Regions from separate parts of the Homo sapiens genome. Here regions 1, 2, 3 and 5 are each linked to region 4. Evidence: promoter capture Hi-C in human tissues and cell types (Jung and others, 2019). All regions are on one chromosome and are shown on one strand. The core of a region is centred on a gene start or on the middle of the fragment in contact, and the rest is flanking DNA. Distances in the headings are between cores, read along the strand shown.

The links. Contacts are between HindIII fragments. The study calls those that stand out against the background at their distance.
Region 1: a contact is called between the fragment with the promoter of ZER1 here and the fragment with the promoter of SH3GLB2 in region 4, in 1 of the 25 tissues and cell types used here (dorsolateral prefrontal cortex).
Region 2: a contact is called between the fragment with the promoter of PKN3 here and the fragment with the promoter of SH3GLB2 in region 4, in 2 of the 25 tissues and cell types used here (dorsolateral prefrontal cortex and stomach).
Region 3: a fragment that was not itself captured here is called in contact with the fragment with the promoter of SH3GLB2 in region 4 in 1 of the 25 tissues and cell types used here (dorsolateral prefrontal cortex).
Region 5: a fragment that was not itself captured here is called in contact with the fragment with the promoter of SH3GLB2 in region 4 in 1 of the 25 tissues and cell types used here (lymphoblastoid cells).

What each region holds. Positions count from the first base shown.
Region 1 is chr9:128,770,366-128,773,255 of GRCh38, reverse strand. ZER1 (zyg-11 related cell cycle regulator) reads left to right here and starts at 1,329. Exons shown (of 16, transcript NM_006336.4): 1 at 1,329-1,675. It overlaps LOC124902282 (a long non-coding RNA gene), which reads right to left and starts at 1,922. Exons shown (of 2, transcript XR_007061804.1): 1 at 1,708-1,922. RefSeq lists enhancers at 238-964, 1,693-1,742 and a silencer at 1,033-1,502. The HindIII fragment of the contact is 13,726 bases long and covers 1-2,890 here.
Region 2 is chr9:128,701,118-128,703,817 of GRCh38, reverse strand. It overlaps PKN3 (protein kinase N3), which reads right to left and starts at 1,315. Exons shown (of 22, transcript NM_013355.5): 1 at 879-1,315. The coding sequence starts at 902. RefSeq lists an enhancer at 499-1,038 and a silencer at 853-1,422. The HindIII fragment of the contact is 13,608 bases long and covers 1-2,700 here.
Region 3 is chr9:128,607,399-128,610,271 of GRCh38, reverse strand. SPTAN1 (spectrin alpha, non-erythrocytic 1) reads right to left here. Exons shown (of 57, transcript NM_001130438.3): 32 at 2,569-2,668; 33 at 2,223-2,420; 34 at 1,996-2,142; 35 at 1,295-1,398; 36 at 988-1,150; 37 at 607-621. Among named protein-coding and RNA genes, the nearest start is that of DYNC2I2, 48 kb to the left of the region's middle. The HindIII fragment of the contact is 5,536 bases long and covers 1-2,873 here.
Region 4 is chr9:129,027,019-129,029,718 of GRCh38, reverse strand. SH3GLB2 (SH3 domain containing GRB2 like, endophilin B2) reads left to right here and starts at 1,388. Exons shown (of 11, transcript NM_020145.4): 1 at 1,388-1,627. The coding sequence starts at 1,565. RefSeq lists enhancers at 1-411, 412-1,151, 1,836-2,399, 2,400-2,700 and silencers at 1,026-1,455, 1,496-2,005. The HindIII fragment of the contact is 26,388 bases long and covers 1-2,700 here.
Region 5 is chr9:128,625,575-128,628,274 of GRCh38, reverse strand. SPTAN1 (spectrin alpha, non-erythrocytic 1) reads right to left here. Exons shown (of 57, transcript NM_001130438.3): 48 at 2,297-2,506; 49 at 1,588-1,884; 50 at 777-889; 51 at 333-350. Among named protein-coding and RNA genes, the nearest start is that of DYNC2I2, 30 kb to the left of the region's middle. RefSeq lists an enhancer at 608-1,253. The HindIII fragment of the contact is 6,522 bases long and covers 1-2,700 here.

The DNA.
Region 1 (2,890 bases), core at 80-2,579, 260 kb after region 4:
AGCCCAACAGCTTTTTTAAGGATTCAAGACTGTACGAACATAGTTGTAGCTGGTCAAAGATTAAAAGGTGCTATGCAAGAAAAAAGAAATCCACAAAATTAGTTCTTGGAATGGAACTGAGGCACCTGTCAAGAAAGGGTTCCTCAAGAAAGGAGCATCTAGCTAGGGTGTGGTAGCTCACGCCTGTAATCCCAGCACTTTGGGAGGCTGAGGTGGGCGCATCACCTGAGGTCAAGAGTTTGAGACCAGCCTGCCCAACATGGCGAAACCCCATCTCTACTAAAAATACAAAAATTAGCCAGACGTGATAGTAGGCGCCTGTAATCCCAGCTACTTGGAGGCTGAGGCAGGAGAATTGCTTGAACCCGGGGAGTCTGCAGTGAGCTGAGGGCCATTGCCCGCCAGCCTGGGCAACAAGAGAGAGAAACTCCGTCTCTCAAAAAAAAAAAAAAAAAAGAGAAATCCAGAGAAGAAATGATGGTGTTTTGAGATGGAGTCTTCCTCTGTCGCCCAGGCTGGAGTGCAGTGGTGCGATCTCAGCTTACTGCAAGCTCTGCCTCCTGGGTTCAAACGATTCTCCTGCTTCAGTCTCCTGAGTAGCTGGGATTAGAGGCGCGCACCACCACGCTCGGCTAATTTTTGTATTTTTAGTAAAGACGGCGTTTCACCATGTTGGCCAGGCTGGTCTCGAACTCTTGACCTCAGGTGATCCGCGTGCCTCGGCCTCCCAAAGTGCTGGGATTACAGGCGTGAGCCACTGCGCTCGGCCAGAAGGAACTGGTTTGACAGGATCCTTAGGACTTGGAGACTGGACGAGGGGCCCAGGAAAATGTAGGGGCCGAGGTCGCCGCCCAATTTCCCATTTGGAAGCTCGGTTGCCTGGTGGCGCATGCCCTAGATGGAGGTTAGGAGCACCTTTTGGGGGACGGTGATGACTGCGGGTTGACACGCGAGTGTGAGCCACCCGTGGAGAACGCAAGACATGTTCAACAGGGCGCTGGATGGAGGGGGCTGGCGCCCAGAGTCAGTCCTGCTATTCAGCAGTGTTGGGCTCAGGTGAACCGCAGCGCCAGGGCGGGCACCGATCCTAGGGTCCCACGAACAGGCCCCTCGGAGGCCAGGGAGAGCCCTGAATGACGCGTTCTCTCGGGTGGCCTGGGGGGGGCATCCCGCGGCTTCCTCCACCGGCGTAACGTGCCGGGCCCGGGGAAAGGAGCCGCCCGCCGGTCCCCGGAACCTTCTGCCGCCGCCGCCCGCGTTAGCCGCGGGACGGGTCGGGGGAACCCGATCGCTGTTGCTAAGGGGCGGCCCCGGAAGTGACGCGCCCCGGGTTTGTTGACAGCGGAGGCGGCGGCGGCTGCAGGCTCCGAGCCGTAGGAGCCGGATCGGGGGAGGGGCCGGGCCCAGGAGCCTCAGCCCCGCCGGCAGCCCTAAGGGCAAGGTAACCGCCACGGGGTCCCCGTCGCGACCCCCTCCCTCCCGGAGCTCCCGTCCCCGGGATCCCAAGCTCCGCCCCGCCGACCCCCGTCTCCCCTGGACCCCGGCTCTAGCCTGACGAGATCCCCAACCTCCTGAGGTGCTCTGGCCCCGGATTCTCCCGGGCTGCATTCTCTGCTCCTCCTCGCCTGCGAAGCATCACGTCCGCTTCCCGACGCTGAGGGCAGCCCCGTCCAGGGTAGGTCCCGGACCCCGGGCCAAGGGACGTACCTGCGTCCTCCTCCTTCGCCTCCTGCCTACGGGGCCTAAGCATCGCCGCTGCAACCACTCTCTGAGGTCCATCTCCGCCAGTGGTGGGAGGGTTCCTTTCTCTATCCCTGCCGCCAGGTCTGAGAATCGTGTCTTTAAAACTGAGCTCCCTTCCTCCAGAAAGAAAATGACGCTCTGTCGTTTGCCCCTACAAGATGGGGGATCGGTGTAGGGCTGAAAGGGCCACCCTCTGCCCCTCCTACCTGTTGGATGAGCTTAAGTTCCCCCAGAGAAGTGCTTAGAAGCTCAAGGACGACTTGGATTCTGGATCAGCTCCCAAAAGGGATGACACAAAGTATAGGGAAATCCAACAGGGTGAGGTTGCAACCGGAGGGCCAAGGGAGCCCGACAGGTGAGTTGATAGTGAAACTGACTGTGCTGGCCACTATAGCTCTCTGGGTGGAACTTGTCTTGGCTGCTCTTTGACCGAAAGAGCCCAAGATTTCCAGTCTTTGCCTGTGTTTGTCAGTCCATTCGTTTTGTTTTGTTTTGTTTTTCTTTAAATAGAGATGGGGTCTCACTATGTTACCCAAGCTGGTCTCGAACTCCTGGGCTCAAGTGATCCGCCCGCTCCAGCCTCCAAAAGTGCTGGAAATACAGGCATGAGCCACCGCGCTCAGCTAGTGCATTTGATTTTTAAGGGGGAGGGGAATGGAATGTCTGATGTCTTGGGAAAATCCTTCCATATATGATCTTTCACAGAATGTTTCTCTTCAGACTTCAAACTGGTTAGGATGAGCATAAAAGCATAGCCTTGAAAAGGGTCACGGGAGGCTATACTTAGAGCAGAAAGTGGTGGCCAGGGGTGAAGGGCCTCGCTACTTTGGTTCATTTGTTCATTCAGCAAATAATAAACATGATATGTAAGGAGGTAATAAGTGGTTTGGAGAAAAATAGAGAAGGAAGGACCATGGGGAAGGAGTTGGGAGTTGTCATTTTATAGAGGGTGTTCAGGGAAGGTCTCTAGTAAGGTGACCTTTGAGCAGAGATAAGTGAGGGAGCAAGCCAGGTAGTTCTCTTGTGGCAGAGCATTCCGCAGCAAATGCAAAGGTCCTGTGGTCATATGCCTGGTGATTTGAAGAAACAGCATAAGGGCTCACGCTTGTAATCCCAGCACTTTGGGAGGCTGAGGCAGCCGGATCAC
Region 2 (2,700 bases), core at 66-2,565, 330 kb after region 4:
AGGAAGGGGGTGGGAGGGGGCAGACCGAGCCCCAGCCCTGAAGGCGGCCTAAACGACTGGCTTGGGCGCTCAAGGAGTCTACACGCACCCCGCAACACCCCCATGGTCCCGTCTGCCCTGGGTTGGAACTCCAACATGGACACACACACCACCTCCTTTCCGCTCTTTGCGGGGACCCACTCCTGTCCGCAAATGCCCCCCTCCCAACCACTCGCTCCGGAACAGGACACCACCTCTCCCTCCTCAGGAGCAGATAGACATGGCCTCGGTCCTCCGGGCCCACGCGCACCTACTGCCAGCTCTGGCAGGAAACCCAGCCCCCTCCGCATTCTAGAACCCGCTATGTACCCAAAGGTTCCCGCCCTGGGGCGGGGGAGGCCGCTCCCCTCTCATCTACGCTCCCCTCGTGCCTCCTGTGCTCCGGGAAGGACTCCTGCCACTGCCAAGCGCGCACAGACTGCGCCCCCCGCTGCGCGCACATTCTAACCCCCCCAGGCCCCTGTGCCCCGCCTTTCTATCCCGGCTAATTCCCGTCGGCCTTGGAGCCCCACCGAGGAGAACCGACTTAAGGACACTCTGGGGACCACCCTGGTGGCGCACACTGCGGACTCAGCCGTCCTCGCTCACGGGCTGGTTGGGGTTCAGTCTCCGGGTCAGCCGCGGACTGATTTGGAGACTGTGCAAGGTCCAGGAACCACCGAACCCGGAGATCAGGTCTGCTCTGCGAGGGCGTCGCGGGGCCGGGGCCAGGGCAGGGGCAGGGAAGGGGCGCGGGTGAGGGGAGGATCGGGGGAAGCGGCCGCGGTTCGGGGCTCCGGGGCGATGACAGAGGCTTTCTCGCACCCCCCGGGCCCGCGCGCCCCTCCCACGCCGTTCACCTGCCGCGGCGCCCCCTCCTCCATGGCGCCGCTCCGGCCGCTTGGGGCCCTTCTCTCAGCCACTCCGGTCCCGGAAGCCGCAGACCCTCCGCCAGGACTTTCAAACTTGAAACTTCCCGGGAAGCGGCGCCGGAGACGCGGGATCGGGCGCCCCCTCCCGAGACCCGCTGGCCCGCGGGACCAGCGCCGCCTCCCGTCCGCGCCGATCCAGCGCCCGGGACCCCACGCCCGAGGTCCCGCGCCCCAGCGCCTCCCTCGGATCCAAAATTCCGCGGGATTCTGGGCCCAGTACCCGGGCTTCGGCGCCTGCGGTTCCCGCTGGGCGTGACCGCGCCTCACCCCCGGTTTGGACGCTCAGGAGGCACATCGCCCGCGCCCAGGTCCTCTGGCCTTCCCCGCCGCGCGCCCGCGGGAGCCGGCCAGTTAGGGACAGGGATGGGGGAAACAGCGCCCCCTGAAGGTTGCCGGGTCGCCCAGCCGGGTGCAGCCGGTGGAGCTGGCCGCCTCCTCTAACTTTGAGCCCCTCTACAACCTGGCTCCCGCCTCTAACGCGCTGGGCCTCCTCGACCAAGCCCCTCAAGTCTCTCTTTGTCTCGCACGTTGTTGGTGTAATGTGGGCTAATCCAAAATTGTCTCTCTCCTCGGAGTGGTTGGCCCAGACTAGATATTAGTCACTACAAGAATGTATACTAGGCCAGGTGCGGTGGCTCACGCCTGTAATCCCAGCAGTTTGGGAGGCAGAGGTGGACGGATCACGAGGTCAGGAGTTCGAGACCAGCCTGGCCAACATGGTGAAACCCCCGTCTCTACTAAAAATACAAAAATTAGCCGGTCGTGGTGGCGGGCGCCTGTAATCCCAGCTACTCAGGAGGCTGAGGTGGGAGAATCACTTGTACCCAGTAGGCGGAGGTTGCAGTGAGCCGAGATCCTGCCACTGCCCTCCAACCTGGGTGACAGAGCGAGACTCCATCTCAAAAAAAAAAAAAAAAAAAAAAAAAGAACGTATACTTGTGGAAAAGTAAATCCTCACCCAAAATTATGATAAATTACAAATTACAGATGAATGAACCAGACCTCTCTCCGGCCCATCTCTTACTCAGACTGAGCTTGCTGGTTCAGCCCGTGCCACTTTTTAGGGCTTTACCCTAAAAAGCCCATCCATCCACACGGGAGAAAAGCCATTTACACCTGGTGAAATAGCCGCCACTATTTCAGCCCAAGGGAGGTGTGCTGGTCACTGCCTAGTCTATGGCGGGCCATTCAGCCCGTCCTGGCATCCTGCGTTTACAGGAGGTTGTGTCAGCACTTCGTGGAGGAGCGTCCTCCAGGAGGTGGGAAGGTGATGAAGGGTCAAATACCGACAGTGACTTGGAACAGACAGGCTCTGGTGCTCTTACTGAATGAAGGAAGCCACATGTTGTGCTTTGCACTAATCACTTCCTTCATAATGGACTGGAAAAAAGTGAAATTGGTGAGCCATGGACAACACTGGGTTGTCCTGCTATGGGAAATCACCCAAGTGGCATTGACATATAAGCAAAGGCAACTTGGCTCTGTGAAACATGCCCAGATTTCATAATCAGAGGCGAAATGTGACATTTACACATTAGAGTTGTTGAGGTCTAGACATTAGCAGAAGCACCTGGCACATAGTAGGTTCTTTGACATGGGGGTTGGCTGGGCATGGTGGCTCATGCCTGTAATCCCAGCACTTTGGGAGGCTGAGGAGGGCAGATCACTTAAGGTCAGGAGTTCAAGACCAGCCTGGCCAACATGGTGAAATCCCGTCTCTGCTAAAAAAAAATTAAAAAGGCAGCTGGGC
Region 3 (2,873 bases), core at 356-2,855, 420 kb after region 4:
AACTTTGAGCTACATGTTGACTGAAGTCTCCTTTCACTACCTGTTGAGTGATGTCTGCTTTTATCTTAACTTCTCATTTGTGTTCCTTGAAGATTTGGAGGTATTAATAGACCATCCGTCTCTCTACAGTTCTCTAGCTGTTCCTCTCCTGACTGGCACCTCTGGATGCCAGAGTGGGTATGCATTAAAACCCTCACACCAGACTGGCCTCCCCAACCCAGGCCACCGAACACCATGAGCTCATAGCAAGTCTGAGCCAATGTCTACACAGAAAAAGCTGAAGCTGATGTTCCATCTTCAAAAGGAAGCACTCCTTGAAAGAAAATGGTCAATTACTGCCCCGCAAATCAAACACTGTACAGAATTTGCCTAAGTGATAAACTGGGGGAGAGAAGGGGGAGTAAGGCGTTGCAGGCTAATTACAACAGAAAAAGCCACATCCCACAGGGACACTTGAATGGAGTGTAATGGATGATTAGAAATGAAAAGGATGGATGAAGAGACACCAGCAAACCGTGTGACCACAATAATAACAATAATCTACGCAGAGTAACACAAATACTGGAGCTCATTTAACTACAACTCTTAAAAAAATTAAAAACTTACCAGCAGCTTGGAAAGCTACAAAAACAGATTAAAAGAACAAGAGTTCAGTACACTGATGTGGACACACATATCAGCTATTAAATAGAAACTCATTTTGTCATACTTCCCCCAGGAAGCTCAGCATTTGGGAACAGTAATAGAAGGGGGATTCTATAGACTTTTATTACAGCAGAAATAGTTTTAATGGAGACAAATGAGGAAGGCAACTTTTAAATGGCTCTGAAACTTGACTAGGGCTTTCCCACTGGCTGGGCTTACTGAAATATTTCTCACTGACTTCCCATGGGTGCAAGGAGATTGTTTTATAAATGCTTTATTTAACAAAATCTACTCAATAACATAAGGCTACATCAAGACCAACACCCAGTCACTTCAGCTTACCTGGATGTTGGTGGGATCCTTGTACGACTCATCACTCGCTGTTTGCAATTTTTCACTGATCCAAGCCTCAATCTCATCCACATCCCGGCTGAACTGTTGGAGGGTTTGAGATTCTCCTAGCTTTGACCTTTTCTCAATCATCTGGGCTTTCAGACGTCGCCACCTGAAAGAGTGAAACCATGAGATCCAACATGAGCATATCTTACCGTGGAGAAGGAAGTGGGGAGACAGAACAGGCCTGGGCCTTCGTATGAGGGGATGCATCCTCTCAGGGCTGGTGACTATGTCAGTGCCACAGGACACCCACCTGTCCAAGACCTCATTGCGCCGGCTAGAAATGTCTCCCTTGGCATAATGGCCGGCAGCGATGAGCTGGTCGGCAAAGGCCTGCAGAGCAGCAATCTTCTCTTCCTGTCAGAAAACAAAGGCATGAGATCAAGGTGGGCCTGTGGCTGGGCCCTGCCTGGACTGCCAGTCTTGAGAAAAGGATAGTTATTTTGGGTGACTGAGAACTAGCTGGTGGCAGGATCAGAATACACTGACACTTTAGAAGCAAGAGTGTAAAATGCCAAAAGAAAGCTTGATTTCATTCATTACTAGAGTAGAGTTTAACTCAAGAAGTCTCCAGGTCACTCAGGTGGGGCAGGTGTTAGAATATCAGAACAGAACAAAATTAAGCCTGATAATAGGAAAATGCTGTCAGATTTACAGCAAAGTGACGTATAAATCAAACAGTTTTACATCTTCCTTGTTGTTTGTTCATTATTCCCTTACCTACCCACACATTTGTTTTCCATCCCTTTGATAATATTTTTTTTTCCTGTGGCACCCCCATTATTAAAATCTCAGAAATACCAGAATCTATAAAGTTTTAAAGATTATTTATGTACATATTTTTCTTAGACAACGCAGGTATTCCTTGGAGATATAACAGTGACTATATAAGCCAAGAAACAGATGTCAATCAGGAAAAATCCAGACTCCAACTCCATGGTCCAGAGGCCTCACCTGGACGTTAATCGCTTTGTCAAAGTCTTCATGTTTTTTGATCAGAGCCTCTACGCTGTCCAGTGAGTCTCCTTTGTCTTCGGTATTCAAGAAGGCCTCCCGGGCAGCCATCCAGTTCTCAGCTTGCTCACAGTCCCGATGGAACAGCTAAAGAGGGCAAGAGGCAGGTGAGAAAATGAGGCCCTTCAGCAAGGAAACACTTGGTCAGAAACCAGGAGCACACACACCTGCAGTTCAAGGCACTGATCCAGCATCATCCTGCGCTGAACCCAGGCCTTCTCCAGGTCTGCACGCTCCTGGTCAAGAATATCAAGTTTCTGCTTGATCTCAGGGCTGGCATAGTGTCCGTGAGCCAACAGCTGCTGTCCAAACTGCTCAAATGCCTGGAAAGTGCCAGCCCTGGCATCGATTTCTGTCCGGTGTTCCTGCCAAAAGGAGGGAAGGGATTAGGTAACTGGCAGCAGATGCCCACTCTGACGTCAACCACCGACTCACCACAAAGGGTGGGAATGAGGCCTCTAGGGCCCTGCAGAGCAGCCACGTCTTTGCTACTCAGCAGGCAGGTCCACCCACCTGGTGTCGCTCCAGCAATGCCTCAGCTCCGGTGACATCCTTGGCTAGCTCATCTGAGGACACCAACCCCCGTATTCCATTGATCCAAGACATGAGGTCCCTGGAAACCAGCACCCCAGAAAAATAGCTATTATATTACCTGGTAAGGAGATCTTCTGCCCAGGAAAACAGAGAATGACATAATTCTTGCCTCAGAAAGTTATCTTGGGTTAATCTGATCTACTGAATGAGGCTAGGTCTTTGGGCAAAGTGTTAAAAAACTTCTTGTTATTTTTTTAAAAGTCCGAATTTCTCAGAGGAAAAGT
Region 4 (2,700 bases), core at 139-2,638:
GCACCTGTAGGTCATCTCCTTGCCTGGGGCTGTGAGGAGCTGGTTTCAAGGTTATCACACATCTGTGCTCCCAGGGCAGCTCATTCTCTCCACCCTGACAGTCACCCAACCTTTGATCTCCTCCTCTCACCACACAGGGGGCTCCAGGCCCCAGCTCCAGAACCCCCTCCCTTCCCGTGACCGCCACCCCAACCCTCCTCCAATTTGGGGAAGCCACAGGGCCTCCCAGGCTGACAAACAGCTGTTCCAGCGGTGGAGGGCAAGTCCCAAGCCTGACTCCGGCTCAGTCACCAAGGTCAGGGCAGAAGAGAGGAGGAGAGGTCAGAGAGGAGGAGTAACGGGAGGAAACCCAAGGGAAACAGAGTGGAAGAAATGGGAATGGGAGGGAGGGGGTGTGAATAAAGAGCGGAGATGAAGAGGCACAAACAGGGGAGAGGCAGCAGGCCTGGGTGGTGGGAGGAGAAAGCAAGAGAGGCCCATTTTAGAGATCTGTTGCACATATTGGTGACTACTCAGTCACTTAGTGACTTTGGGAGACTGAGGCAGGCAGATTGCCTGAGATCAGGAGTTCAAGACCACCCTGGGCAACATGGCAAAACCTTGTCTCTCCTAAAGTACAAAAAATTAGCGGGGCATGTTGGTGGGCGCCTGTAGTCCCAGCTACTCGGGAGGCTGAATGAAGCAGGAGAATCGCTTGAGCCCGGCAGGTGGAGGCTGCAGTGAGCCGAGATCGCGCCACTGCACTCCAGCCTGGGCGACAGAGCAAGACTCTGTCTACAAAAAAAAAAAAAAAGTATTGCATATTTCAAAATTGCTAAAAGAGTACATTTGAAATGTTCTAACCACAAAAAAAGTAGGTGAGGTGATGGATATGTCAATTAACTTGATTTCATCATTCCACAATTTCATCACCTTGTAGGCCGTAAATATATATTTATCAATTAAAACTTTTGAAAAGCATTGGTAAGATGGCAAATAATATGTAATTATGGCGTGTACCTGCAATCATCTAAGAGCACATGTGTTCCAGTTTTAATAATTTTAGTAAAAGGAAAAAAAGAGGCCGGCCCAATCCGCGGCGGCAGGCGCATGGGGGCAGCAGCGAGCACTGCCCAGCAGCGAGCCCTGCCCAGCACAACCTGCTCCCCAGACCAACCCCCGCTCTGGCCGCGCCAAGGCCTCGCCCCCACCCATGTAGCTCCGCCCCACTGCCCTCTCGCTCCGCCCCTGTCCCGCCAGTCCCGCCCCCTCCGACTCCGCCCGGCTTCCGCCAACCAGCCCGGCCCCCGCCCCTCTAGCTCCGCCCCACTGCCGTCCCGTCCCGCCCCGGCACCGCCAGCTCCGCCCCCGCCCCTCTGGCTCCGACCCGCGGCCTCCGCGCCCCGCCCTGCGCGCTCGGGCTGGCTCGGCGGCTGCGGCGGGCGGGCAGGCGGGCAGGCCGGCAGGCGGGTGCGCGGAGGGCTGGTGCCCCGCAGCAGGTGGGCGGGGTGCGGTTGGCGGCGGCGGCTGGGCCGGGGGCTGCCGGCTGCGCTCGGGCCGTGCGCGGCGGCCGTGCGGGCACGCCATGGACTTCAACATGAAGAAGCTGGCGTCGGACGCGGGCATCTTCTTCACCCGGGCGGTGCAGGTGAGGCCTGGCGTCGCGCCGTGCGCCGGGGGCCCGGATGTGCGGCGGGCGGGGAGCACCCTGCGGCAGACGCCTGGGGACGCGGGAAAGCCCTCCCGGGCTGCTGCCCTCGTCCCCGCCGCGGCACACCTCTGCCCCCCTGAGCCCTTGCTGACCGGAAGAGGGAAAGAGCCCGTGCGGCCCGAGCCGGGCCTTGGCCCTGCTGCCTGGGGCGAGGCACCGGTGCCCACCCTTTGGGCTGGTTGGGTTACCCTGCTCCCCTGGCGCCTGCCTGGCTGAGGAGGGGAGGAGGCACCGGCTGGGTGCTACCTCCCTGCCCTTGTCCAGCAGTGACTGGCGCCTGGCGGGGCATTTAGCGACCTGGGTCCCAGGCCCAGGGACTCATGCGTCCACCACAACCCCTTCTCCGAGCCTCAGTCTCCGCACCTGTGCAATGGGCGGCTGGTGCCATGAGTCCCTCATGGCCATTTCACACGTTTGGATAGTCAGGCCGGAAGCCAGGAGTTGTTTCTTTTCTGCTCCACGGGAGGTCTGTTTCCTTGGTCCCTGGGCCTGGGGGATGGAGAGAGGGCTGGGGTCTGGCTGGGAAGCTGTCCAGGCCCACGATGCTGAGATTGGAAGAAGTCCTATCCGTTTAGGGGCAGAGAGTAACAGGCAACTCAACATCATGGGAAGACCTAGGGTCAGGTGTGGGTGGGAATGTGCCCTCCTGTGACCTTGGGGGAGGGGCCTTCATCTCACTGGGCCTCAGTTTCTCAGTCTGAAAAATGGGATCAGTATTCCTGCCTCCCAGGACAGATGCGAGGATTCTGTGGGACTCTGCATATGTGTGCTCACCAAAGGCAAGCTCATTATTGGTGTCAAAGTGGTTAATATTGCACCTGTGCAGCATGTGACCTTGGACAAGTCACTTCTCTCAGAGCCCCGCCCTCCCCTTCTGTAAATCTGGTGTAACACCGTGGTTATGGGATTCAGTGGGATTCCGCAGGCCCGGGGCTGGCCCATCCCAGGGTTCTGGGAGCAGGTCCTGTAGTCTTGTCTTTGTCGTTGTCGTTGTCATCGTTGTTGTTTCT
Region 5 (2,700 bases), core at 201-2,700, 400 kb after region 4:
GGCTGGACAGGCACGGGGGTTCTTAGGGCCTCTGGACTCCAGCTCTGGCCTTCGTGCTTCATCACCTTCCCTACCCAAAGTGAGCCCTTGGAATCGCCCAGTGAGGCAAGGACGGCTCCCCCTGGCTTGAAGGCTCTATCGGGGACCAGGGACCATGGGCTATGGGGCAAGGCACACACTCCTCATCAGGTGACGAGAAGGGTGGGAGGGGAAGTGCAGCCCGCCCTGGGCAGGAAGGCCCATCCCGGGATCCTCCACAAGCCAGGCCACGAGGGGCAAGCGCACGAGACCCCCACATGACAAGCCCAGAGAAGGAAGAAAACAATATTAACCCATCGAGGAGGTATGTCCTGTGGAGAGCAGATCCAAGCAGCCGGGAGACAAGGTGGTGTCCGGACAACAGCAGCAATCGGGGGGACAGAGAGAAGACACAAGAAAGAAAGGAAAACAAAAGCAAGAACATCAGTACCCAACGCACAGACCCTGCATCGTCTGTCACCAAGTCATGGCTGGGGCTGACCACGCGCCCTGCATGGTCCCACTCAATCCGGGATCTCTAACAACTTGATGTCTGGGACATGCAGCACTGAGAGGCTGCTCCACCTATGCCCCCACTCCCGGCTCCAGAGCCCGACCAGGCGTTGCCAGCCCAGCTTTATTCCCAGGCTGCCTCTGGTTTTACACAAAGCACCACCACCTCCTTGGGGCTGGAAGCTCCCCAGGGCTTAAGTACAGCAGGGACATGCTGCTGCTCCCCGGCCCCAGCGGGCTGGCACCTGGTCTCTTGGATCCACTGGTGGAAGGCGTTGGCGTGCTGGGCAAACTCCTGGCGCAGCTTGTCGTTCTCCTCCTGCCGCCGCTGTTCCTTCTGCAGCTCCAGCTCCCTCTCCTGAGGGCCAAAGGGGGGCAGATGCTGTGCGCTGCTGTGGCAGTGACACCAGCCCCTCCTTCACAGATGGGCTCAGGGTGGTGGTGGCCTCCCCACAAGGAACCTCCCCAAAGATGAGAGGAGGAGGCTGGGAGACATGAGGCCGGCTCAGAGCACTTGGTAGTTCTTTCTCTGTTCCCACCCCCCAGGGGCTTCAAGGAAGAGGCGGACCTGGAGGGAAGCGACTGGTCAGTCAAGCAGGGAGTTGCTGGACTGTCAGAAATGGAAACTTCTGGCTGGGTACAGTGGCTCACACCTGTAATCCCAGCACTTTGGGAGGCCTGGGCAGGAGGACTGCTTGAGGCCAGGAGTTGAAGACCAGCCTGGGCAACATAGCAACACCCTGTCTACAAAAATTAAAATAATTAGCCAGGCGTGGTGGCACGTGCTTGTAGTCCCAGTTATTCAAGAGGCTCAGGCAAGAGGATCACCTGAGCCTGGGAGGTTGAGGCTACAGGGAGCCATGGTAGCACCACTGCACTGAAGCCTGGGTGACAGAGACCCTGCCTCAAGAACACAAAAAGAAATGAAACTTCTGATGAAACCATGCTCCTCCATCCTGCTCGTCTTGTCGTGACTCAGTTAAGTGTGGGCTCTGAGCAGGGCCCAGAGAGGGCTCTGGGAGGCCGAGCAGCTCCTGAGGGCAGCGGGAGGTGTACCTTGATGATTTTCTGTAGGTTCCTCCAGGTCTCCTCCAGGGCCTCCATGGTAAACCAGGTGTAGGGGTTGGAGGCTACGCGGAAGCTCTTGATCTGGCGGTCCAGCTCGGCCAGCTGGTTGAAGTCAGCCTGGGCAGAGCTGAGGGAGGAGCGGAAGGCGTCGTGGGCCTCGCGCAAAGCTTTGATTTCTTCCAAGGAGTTGCAGCGCACGGGGTCTGTTAAGTCCTCCTCTGCATTTTCAAACCAGCTGTTGAAGGCAGAAGCCTTTTTGGCGAAGGTCAGGAAGAGGTCCTCCACCTGGAAGCAGAAGAGACTGAGTTGGCGGAGTCGCCAGGGCTGGACGTGCCGACGCAGTGCAGGAGGTGGGGTGCGGGGTGGTTCCTGGGAATCAGAGGCGCACACAGCCTGCTGGGAGCTTAGCTCCCCTCTGCTCCTGTCTCCTGCTCCCCCTTCAAGTCTTCACCAGCCTTTTTTCCCCTTCCTACCCTTTGCCCTTGTCTCTAGTCTGTCCTGCGTGCTTCTGAATGGCGATCTCACAGGGCCCTCTCATTTGCCCTGGTTTTAATTGATGCCAGCCACACCCATGTTTGAAAGCTCTGCACTGAGCTCACAGCTTCCTCAAGGGGGAGTGGCAGAGCTGGGCAGACAGAAGGTGGGCGTCCTTCCTTGAGCTGTGGGCCAGCTAAGCTTCACGTGGCCCCATCCTCACCTTGCGGAAGTGACTCTGAGCCTCCAGAAGCTTCTTCTTGCGGGCGGCTGAGTTGGCCAGAAGCTGGCTCCACCTCTTCATGAGGGAGGCGTGCCGGGCCTCGATGGCCTTGGACTGAACGTGTTTGGCGGCGAGAAGCTGATCTTTGAGGGCAGTGATGTTGGCAATGCCTTCCTGCTGGAAGGCCTGCAGCCCAGCGTCAAAAGTTTCCTGAACAAGGAGTGACAAGCCAATTTGTGGTGACTCCACAGGACTGGAACTTGCTCTTCCTAGGCTCAGATGGCACCAGCATGTCCCCCAGATGCCCAAGCCAAACTGTCCACCTGGACACTGCTGAGACTCAGTCACACATGCCCCCTTTCCTGCTCTCCTTCAGACCGCAGATCACTGCGGCAGCCTCCTCC